Regions from separate parts of the Homo sapiens genome. Here all the other regions are linked to region 3. Evidence: promoter capture Hi-C in 16 types of primary human blood cells and fetal thymus (Javierre and others, 2016). All regions are on one chromosome and are shown on one strand. The core of a region is centred on a gene start or on the middle of the fragment in contact, and the rest is flanking DNA. Distances in the headings are between cores, read along the strand shown. Region 1 holds the start of CRPPA (CDP-L-ribitol pyrophosphorylase A). Region 2 overlaps TSPAN13 (tetraspanin 13). Region 3 holds the start of ARL4A (ARF like GTPase 4A).

Evidence for each region. The method cuts DNA at HindIII sites, captures the fragments that hold promoters and counts their contacts. A CHiCAGO score of 5 or more calls a contact.
Region 1: the fragment with the promoter of CRPPA here is called in contact with the fragment with the promoter of ARL4A in region 3 in 2 of 17 cell types (non-activated CD4 T cells and naive CD4 T cells); the score reaches 5.8 in non-activated CD4 T cells.
Region 2: a contact is called between a fragment that was not itself captured here and the fragment with the promoter of ARL4A in region 3, in 1 of 17 cell types (total B cells). The highest score is 6.5, in total B cells.

Annotation. Positions count from the first base shown.
Region 1 is chr7:16,420,288-16,422,987 of GRCh38, reverse strand. CRPPA (CDP-L-ribitol pyrophosphorylase A) reads left to right here and starts at 1,450. Exons shown (of 10, transcript NM_001101426.4): 1 at 1,450-1,922. The coding sequence starts at 1,666. LOC105375168 (a long non-coding RNA gene) reads right to left here and starts at 2,302. Exons shown (of 5, transcript XR_007060223.1): 1 at 2,006-2,302; 2 at 1-8. RefSeq lists silencers at 1,640-1,779, 1,800-1,859. The HindIII fragment of the contact is 1,514 bases long and covers 535-2,048 here.
Region 2 is chr7:16,755,680-16,758,379 of GRCh38, reverse strand. All of the region lies in intron 1 of TSPAN13 (tetraspanin 13), which reads right to left. Among named protein-coding and RNA genes, the nearest start is that of TSPAN13, 3.3 kb to the right of the region's middle. RefSeq lists a silencer at 1,742-2,036. The HindIII fragment of the contact is 758 bases long and covers 939-1,696 here.
Region 3 is chr7:12,686,328-12,689,027 of GRCh38, reverse strand. It overlaps ARL4A (ARF like GTPase 4A), which reads right to left and starts at 1,395. Exons shown (of 2, transcript NM_005738.5): 1 at 1,300-1,395; 2 at 1-862. The coding sequence starts at 773. The coding sequence ends at 171. RefSeq lists silencers at 1,831-1,880, 2,081-2,360 and an enhancer at 1,350-1,886. The HindIII fragment of the contact is 3,768 bases long and covers 60-2,700 here.

The DNA of each region.
Region 1 (2,700 bases), core at 201-2,700, 3.7 Mb before region 3:
TGGTGAATCTGTAAGTAATAAAATGCGCCTGTTATTTCACATGTTTTGTGTGCTGCCTCCTCTGGCGTCTCACCTGCACACCAGAACCTAGCTTTCCTCTCTGGGCCAGGGCTCTCCTGAAGAGTGGCTGTTCTGGCTTATGGCCACTCGTAAGAGAGAGACCTCGAGATCAAATTAGAAAGGAACGATAGCAATAAAAATTACAAGGAAGTATATTATGGCACCCACTTTTCAGTTAAGAAACCAACTAGCACAGGACCTAAATGCTAATTATAATAAAAGTAACAAAAGTGAAAGAATGCCTTCAATAAGACTAAACAAAAAGGAAAAGCAGAAAACATATTTTTATATGCTCTCAAGAAAACAGGTAAAAATAAAAATTGTAATACTACAACTAGATAACATTTCCAGTGTTTAAAAAGATTATTTTTTATTAATCATAAGCCACTGGATTAAGACTGAATTACTGATGATTATACACTTTAATGATCATTAATCTATTTAATCAGCAATTCATTCAATACATATTAAGCTTGTGTTACATTCCAGGAGCTGGGCACACACACACAACCCAAGCCAAAAGAAAAATGTTGCTGCTTGCATGGAGTTTACATTCCAGGGACCTAATACAATAGTGCTCTCCTCCAAATTCTCACTATACTTTCATGGTAAACCTCACCAGCAACAAGAGTACTAAATAAGGTAAGATATGCTTTAGGCCTGGAATTCTTCAACTTTGGCCTACTTCTGTATGAGGGCCTTAAGGCTCCTCTGCCATTAGTTGTGCAATCTTACATAAATTAACCATTTTAACGTCTTTTCCCCTTTGTAAAAAGGGAAATGGCAATAGTTGAGTTCTTCTGGGGACTAAATGACATAAGGTGTATCGATTGTTCAGCAATTAGTATTGCTTTGACCCTATGGTTCCAAAACATGCCTGCTCATCAGAATCACCCGAGGATCTTTAAAAACATTCCAAAGTCCGGTGCTCACCAGACCAATTAAATCCCAATCTCTGAGCGTGTCAGGACACGCTCCCCAGGTGGTTCCAAAGTGCAGACAAGTTTGAGAGCCACCACAGTTTGGATTATTGATGTGCCACAATAACACTTGCTAATCCATCTGTCTTTACCCCAGGTGGAACCAGGAAGCCTCCAGAGCTTAATGGAATTCAGATAATCGAGGTGCATACGCACCCTACGTCCCATCCTGTGACTTGAATCCCAATCTCTTCCGAAATTTTAAAGCAGGGAGGGATGGGACAGAGGCCTGACCTCTCCTGCATACTCATGGCCCTTGAGTATCTGCGATCTTTAGATATGTAGGGCGTTCTGACATTTCCACTTGCGGCGACAGCTGGGCCTGCCCGGGGGAAGCGCAGAGCGGGCAAGTCAGCCCTCCCGCAGGCGCTGGGACCGGGTGCGGAGGCCGCAGCCGAGCCGCGAGGGCAGATCGGCAGCCTCAGCTGCTGCCGTAGCTGTCGGGATCGTCCCCTGCGGGGCAGCAACAGCGGGGCTCCGACGGCTGAGGGGGGCGCCTTCTGCTTGCGCGCTCTGCGTCCCTCTCCGTGGTCTGCCCTTCGCCCCGCGACCCCGGCCGAGGGTGGGAGCAGCGCGGGGTCGCATCGGCCCGAGGCTAGCGGGGCTCGCCGTTCCGCCCGCAGCCATGGAGGCCGGGCCGCCGGGCAGCGCCAGGCCGGCGGAGCCGGGTCCTTGCCTGAGTGGTCAGCGCGGCGCGGACCACACGGCTTCCGCCTCCCTGCAGAGCGTGGCCGGGACCGAGCCCGGGCGCCACCCGCAAGCCGTGGCAGCTGTGTTGCCTGCCGGGGGGTGCGGGGAGAGGATGGGGGTCCCCACCCCGAAGCAATTCTGCCCCATCCTGGAGAGGCCGCTCATCAGCTACACCCTACAGGCCCTGGAGAGGTAATGCGGCGCCGGGCGCGCCCCGCGGTTCCCTGGGGCCCGGCCTCCCGCTCCCCGCCCTGCCGCTGCTCTAGCGCTAGCACCTTCACTTGGGGGACTGCCGGGCCGCGCTCAGTTATTCAAGCTTGAGCTCTGTTCCCTCCCGCATTTCAGAGATGGGAAGTTCTGGCCTTTAACAGATGGGCACGAAAGCTGCAGCTCCCCCACAGAGCCCTTTACGTCCCCAAGCAGATGAGGTTGTGGGGAAGGCCCGTCGTGTGGCGCCGATTAGAGAGTGCATGGGTTGGGACTAGGCGATTTGGGGTTCTAGCTGTGGGGCCTGAGGAGAAGCTGTGCGGATAGTCTCGCGGTCCTGGGGCTCTGCCTCCGCGCATGCGTGGATTGAGTTGTACGTGCACACTGAAGTTTCCAGGGCGTGTGTTCGTTTTTTTCATTCATTTACTGAGCACCTTCTGTGAGACAGGCTGCGCTAATTACTAGGTGCTGCAGGAGGGGAGAGGAGCAGAATTTAATAACCTTTCAATGGTGGAAAGGGCTTTAAGCCTGAATTTGAGGTCATACCCCCTTTATCTTAGAAAGGGCACTGAAGTTAACTAGTTGGGGAAATGAAGGAGACAGGGAATGGGATAAGGAGGACTAGGGGAACAGTCGTGAGGAGCTGAGGAAGTGAAATGAAGGGGTATGTTATAATATTAACTTACTTTGCTTTTAGCACTGAGTAATGAGGTGGAGCTTGGGGCGAGGGTGCAGGGGTGGGAAGCAGCGGCATTACAAATAT
Region 2 (2,700 bases), core at 68-2,567, 4.1 Mb before region 3:
AATTTATATATGAAGAAACTGAAACTCAAAGTAAGCTGTTTGTCTAGTAACAGAGTTGGAAAAGTTTCAGTTTTCTTCATAAATCCAGTGATCTTTCTTCCCATAATTTGTATGGACATATGTTTTTTATCTAACAGATTAAAAACAGAATTTTCTTCCCATAAATTGTATGGTCGTATTTTTTTATCTAACAGATATGGCACACTTTATCTACTATAAAATGCATCCCAGGCCGGGAGCATTTTATAGTAGATAAAGTGCTCATGCTTGTAATCCCAGCACTTTGGGAGACCGAGGCGGGTGGATCGCCTGAGGTCAGGAGTTCAAGACCAGCCTGGCCAACACGGCGAAACCCCGTCTCTACTAAAAATACAAAAAATAAGCTGGACATGGTGGCGGGCACCTGTAATCCCAACTACTCAGGAGGCTGAGGCAGGAGAATCGCTTGAACCCAGGAGGCGGAGGTTGCAGTGAGCCAAGATCGCGCCATTGCACTCCAGCCTGGGCAACGAGAGTGAAACTCCATCTCAAAAATACAAATAGAAACAATAAAATGCATCCCAACTTCAGAGGTGATAAAAATATAAATTAAGGTGTTTATGAAGTAATTCAGTATAATTTTTATGCTGCATGAGAATTTTTCTCAAAACAACCAAAAGTATAAGGAAAAAGAATCACGAAAAAGAGAAAGAAACAAACATGGAAAGATGTTATAAGAATGAACACACACAGGAGAAACAAAACTGCAACTTCTGAAATTTCCCTCCTGATTTTAAAACTGGCAGGGCAACTCTTAAAAAGTCCCAGTAAATATATGTTTGGTCATATTTTTCAGTTTGGTTCTATTTAACAAAGTCAGCTACCTTTTTTTTGGTTGTTTGTTTTTAATAGAGCTTTCTTCTCTGGTTAAGAAGCACAAGGAGACACATTATAAAGCTTCAAAATATTACGTATTTTAATACAAATTTTATTTCATATTTTCTAAAATTTCCCACAAATCACTAAGCATAATTTTCAAAAGTTTTTTTCACTACTTGTCAAAATCTTTTCAGCCTAAAATATTCCTATAAACTATTAAAAATAAGTCATTTTCCCAAATCATTTTCATTTTTATGTATATCCTAAATGGTATCAAAAAGACCCACACACTATTTCTACATTTCCTTGATTCAATCACACCTCCTTTATTCCCCCAACTTCTCTAACCCACAAATATCTGCCACAGTCCTAAATTTTATGGTACCTAAAGTCAGTATATTCCTTATACGCCATTTAATTTTCCCATTCCATGTCTCTCATCTAGATCCTGTCTTCACAATGCATTTGCCTTTATAGGTATTTATTATTTCCCACAGTTCTCAAAAGAGTGCACACAGTAGACAAAAGTTTATTGACTGAATACAATTCCTGAAAACATATGTATAAAAGGTAGTAAATAAAAAAGAGCCTTCATAAAAGCACATTGATTTTTACGCCCTGTTTGGTTTGCTGCTGTATTTCCAAACTGAGAACAGAGCCTGGCACACAGTAGGCACTCAATAATTGTTGAATGAAGAAACTGAAAGTTTCTTTAAATGCAGGAAGCTCTGAGGCAAGTCATTCTCTTAGAATACTGTGAAGGTGAATTCAGGAATGTAGCTTCCCCCTTTTCTTCTATATTTACAAACTGTTAACACATACTACACTAATTTAAGCTTGTCCAGTACTGGCGATCCTATTAACTAAAATAATCAAGCCATAAACAACAAGAAAAATCAACTGTTAACATTTTGCCTAGTGATCAAATTTCCTTGTTTGGGACTTCCAACTTGTTTTTAGTGACATGCTTTCTGAGCTGATCATGAATGTGGCACGAATCTCAGGCTCATCAGCAAGCCACCAGAGCATGTGGACAGTTCAGCTGATACAGTCCTAAGTTCCTCAGTAAAATGCTTCAACACAGCAATGATGATGTTTCAGGCATCTGCCGTTCCCATATGCAATCCTGGTTTAACCAACACTTTTAGAAATGACCTCAAATGTAATCCTGTAGCGTTGAGCACATTTTAGAGGCAGTGACCAGGGTGGGATTAGAACCTACAAAGAATGTTTCTATTCATGACTTATAGAGAAATGTCTCCCAAGTCTTCATGCTCAATCCCATCCCCAACTGCCTCACATTTTTTTCATCTTAAAATGTTGAGAAAGAGATCAGGGGAGAAATAGAAGCTAAATAATGGCCATGGCACATTTTCAGCATCTATCTAAGACTTGATCCAACTTTTACCTGTCACTTGCCTCCACTTTAAACTGCTGCAGTTATTTAAGCCTATTTACAATGTAAAAGAAGCAAGCAGCCACTAATTCATTTTAAGAAATGTCCCTTTGTCTAAAAAGTCTATGATTTAAAAGGGCTAGCCATTTTTATTGTCCCGTGAATTTCCAATTCATTAAGTTTTACTGCATAGCTATTAAAATCAATAGAACACACACTTTGAAGGTCAATAATTTAGAATAGATATTAAATAGTCTTAATATGTCCCTTTAGAATCACCTTTCTTTCGCCTCACTTTCCTGATATACTCTAAATACAACTAAAAATGATGTCTAGAAAGCAAGGAACTTCATTTTAAAATAACTTGCCTTTTTAAAAAAGATTATACATTGATATAGACCCTTCAGTGAAGTAAGTATGCAAAGTAGACATTCCACTCTGTGTAA
Region 3 (2,700 bases), core at 146-2,645:
TTACTCATCTTCCACAAGGCAACAGAGTTGGGCATCTGATTGTTCAACAAAACAAAGCTTTAATAGCATCCAGGAGGGCAGACAGGCAAACCACGCTGTAGACACTCTTCTATTTGTCAAAATCAGACCAGAGAAAACCTACTCCACACAGATATAATAGGTATTGATATTCATCTTTTCTTTTTCTGTTGCCGCAACATTTTTCTTCTTTTAATGATCATATCATGTAGTTTCTCAAGTCCTTCCTTTAGGCCATCTCCTATGATTGCACAGGTAGGCTGCAAATGCCAAGGAGTTGATGAGCTCAGTTCACCCATTGCTAACAATTTCTCAATTTCTGAAAGTGACAATGAGTTCCTCAAATCTTGTTTGTTAGCAACTATAAGTACAGGGACTCCCTGATTTTCTGATATCCTAGTTATTTTGTGAAGTTCAGTTTTGGCTTCTTCCATCCTTTCGACATCAACAGAGTCCACAACAAATACAATGCCATCTGTGCATCTGGTATATGACTTCCACAGTGGCCTTAATTTCTCCTGACCACCTACATCCCAGAAGTGAAAAGTGACTGTTTTAGAATTTCCCAAGGTTACCTTAATTTTCTCAGTGTTAAATCCTTTGGTAGGTACGGTATTTACAAATTCATTGAACTGCAGCCTGTATAAGACAGTTGTCTTTCCAGCACAGTCCAAACCCAGAATAACAATGTGGAAAGACTGAAATGAAGGCAGGTTGGACAGGATAGAAGTCTGGTCTGACAGCCCATTCCCCATTTCCAGGTGCAAATAAATGTCCCAAATTGAAATGCTTTTCTCTTCTTGGTTTACAACTTCTCTTGGTAGCTGATCCAGCTATAAGACTGCTGGGAGACGGAAGAAGGAATAAGTTATTCTCCCGAAATAATACATTAAAACAGGTTTGCTCTACTTTGCTAAAATAAACAACACGAAGAACTTACTATAACTTGCTGCGCTAAACAAACCAGACGAGATATGAAACGTACATGAAAACACACACAGTCCAAGACAAACGATGGAATAACAGTGATTGAAATTATCTGGTTTACTTAAATTGCAGTAATATGTACGTTTTTCTCCTGGGTCCCCAAACCTCAAAGACCTCATTCTGGAAAGAACCCAGTCACCAGTATCTGGTCTAAGTGGCCGTAACCACAAAGTGCCTATCTGGCAGAAAACTCATAGCAGATAGTCCTATCTTCGGAATCTAATTCCACATGCTTAACAGCATACCCAAGATCACTATTACCTCCTACCCCTTGCAAAATAACAACGTTCTCACCTCCCGATCTGGAGTCTGGGTCCAAATGAGAAAGCATTGGCAGGCGTTTCTACGCAGGGATAAGCACCCTTCCAGCTTAGCTCTCCAAGCAGCTCTGGCAGTTGCCGCACGAGAAACCTTGGACTCAGACTCCGACCACGCCCACTCCTCCCGGTCCACTCATGATCCCAAATCCCATTGGTCACCCGCATCAGGGAAGCCATGCAACTCCCGCCCCCGCTCCCTAATTGGTGAGGGTAACTGCCGCTCCCAGCGCGGCGGAGCTGAGCTCTCTCTCGGTCCACCGGCACCACCTGTTGCCCTTAAGTTAGAAAAGGCGGCGTTCCCAGAGGGAGCCGAGCAGCCGCTGCAGGTGAAGGGGAGCCTCGGGCGGTCAGGTCGCCGCCAGGCTGCCGGCTCCGTTCGGCCCGGCGCACCTGCAGCGCAGCCAGGGCGTCAAGCCAAGGCTCTCACATCCGGGGCCCGCAGTCACTGCCAACGCGTTAACCCTTTGTCCGCGGGCCCGAGGGTGCCGGCTGTTGCCGCGCGGGCCCCTGAGGCGCTAGAGATCCCACCTGGCGCGCCCGCCGGGATAAGCCCATCCTCCCCGAAGTGGGATCCCTTCACCCTGTCCCTCCGCACACGACCGGCTCTTCTCCCTCGGCAGGGCGTGGCCGCCCCGGCCGCCCACCCCGCCGCGGCTCACCTGACTAACCGTCCTTCCCTCTTCTTCATTCAGCGTCTCTCCCAGCCGCTGGGGAGGCGCGCTGATACCTGTTCCCTGGCACCAGGGAGGCGTGGGCGATGGCAGAGGACTGGGCGCCTGGCGGGCGCCGCGCGCCAGGCTGCCCTAACGGTGCTCGCCCGGCAGCTCCACGCGACAGTCCCCGCCCCCTGCCCGCGCGCCGCCCGGGCGCCGGCCTGTAGGGGGCGCGCAGGAGCCGCGTCTCCTAGCAACGCCAAAACAAGGTCGAGTTCGAATCGGCCTAGCGCTGGCTGCCCGCGAGGTCGGATGGGACTTCCGGCCTCACCCCTGAACGGTTGCTCCGGGTAGCTCTGTCTGCGGCGGCCCGCCAGCCTGGCACAGGCCCCGCCCGGCACCGCCTTCCCTCACGTCGTCTAGGGCGTCCGCGGGGCAGCAGCCACGTGATTCGCGGTTAGGGATTCCATAGTTCACGGGTTACGGCACACACGCGTTACGTATATATCGAGGTGACGTGGAAGTCCCCCAGTAGTTGACCTTAAACAGCCTGGGTTGACTGGCCTGGTAACTGCGCCTTCATTCGCTTTTTGTAGAGCAAATGAACGCGCTGTCTCACGTGTTTCTAGCAGCATCCCGGGGAACTGGCCACAGATAGAAATATTCCAGTTTGACACATAAGGAAATACACTCTGAAAGATGAAAGGGATGTTTCTTTTTTT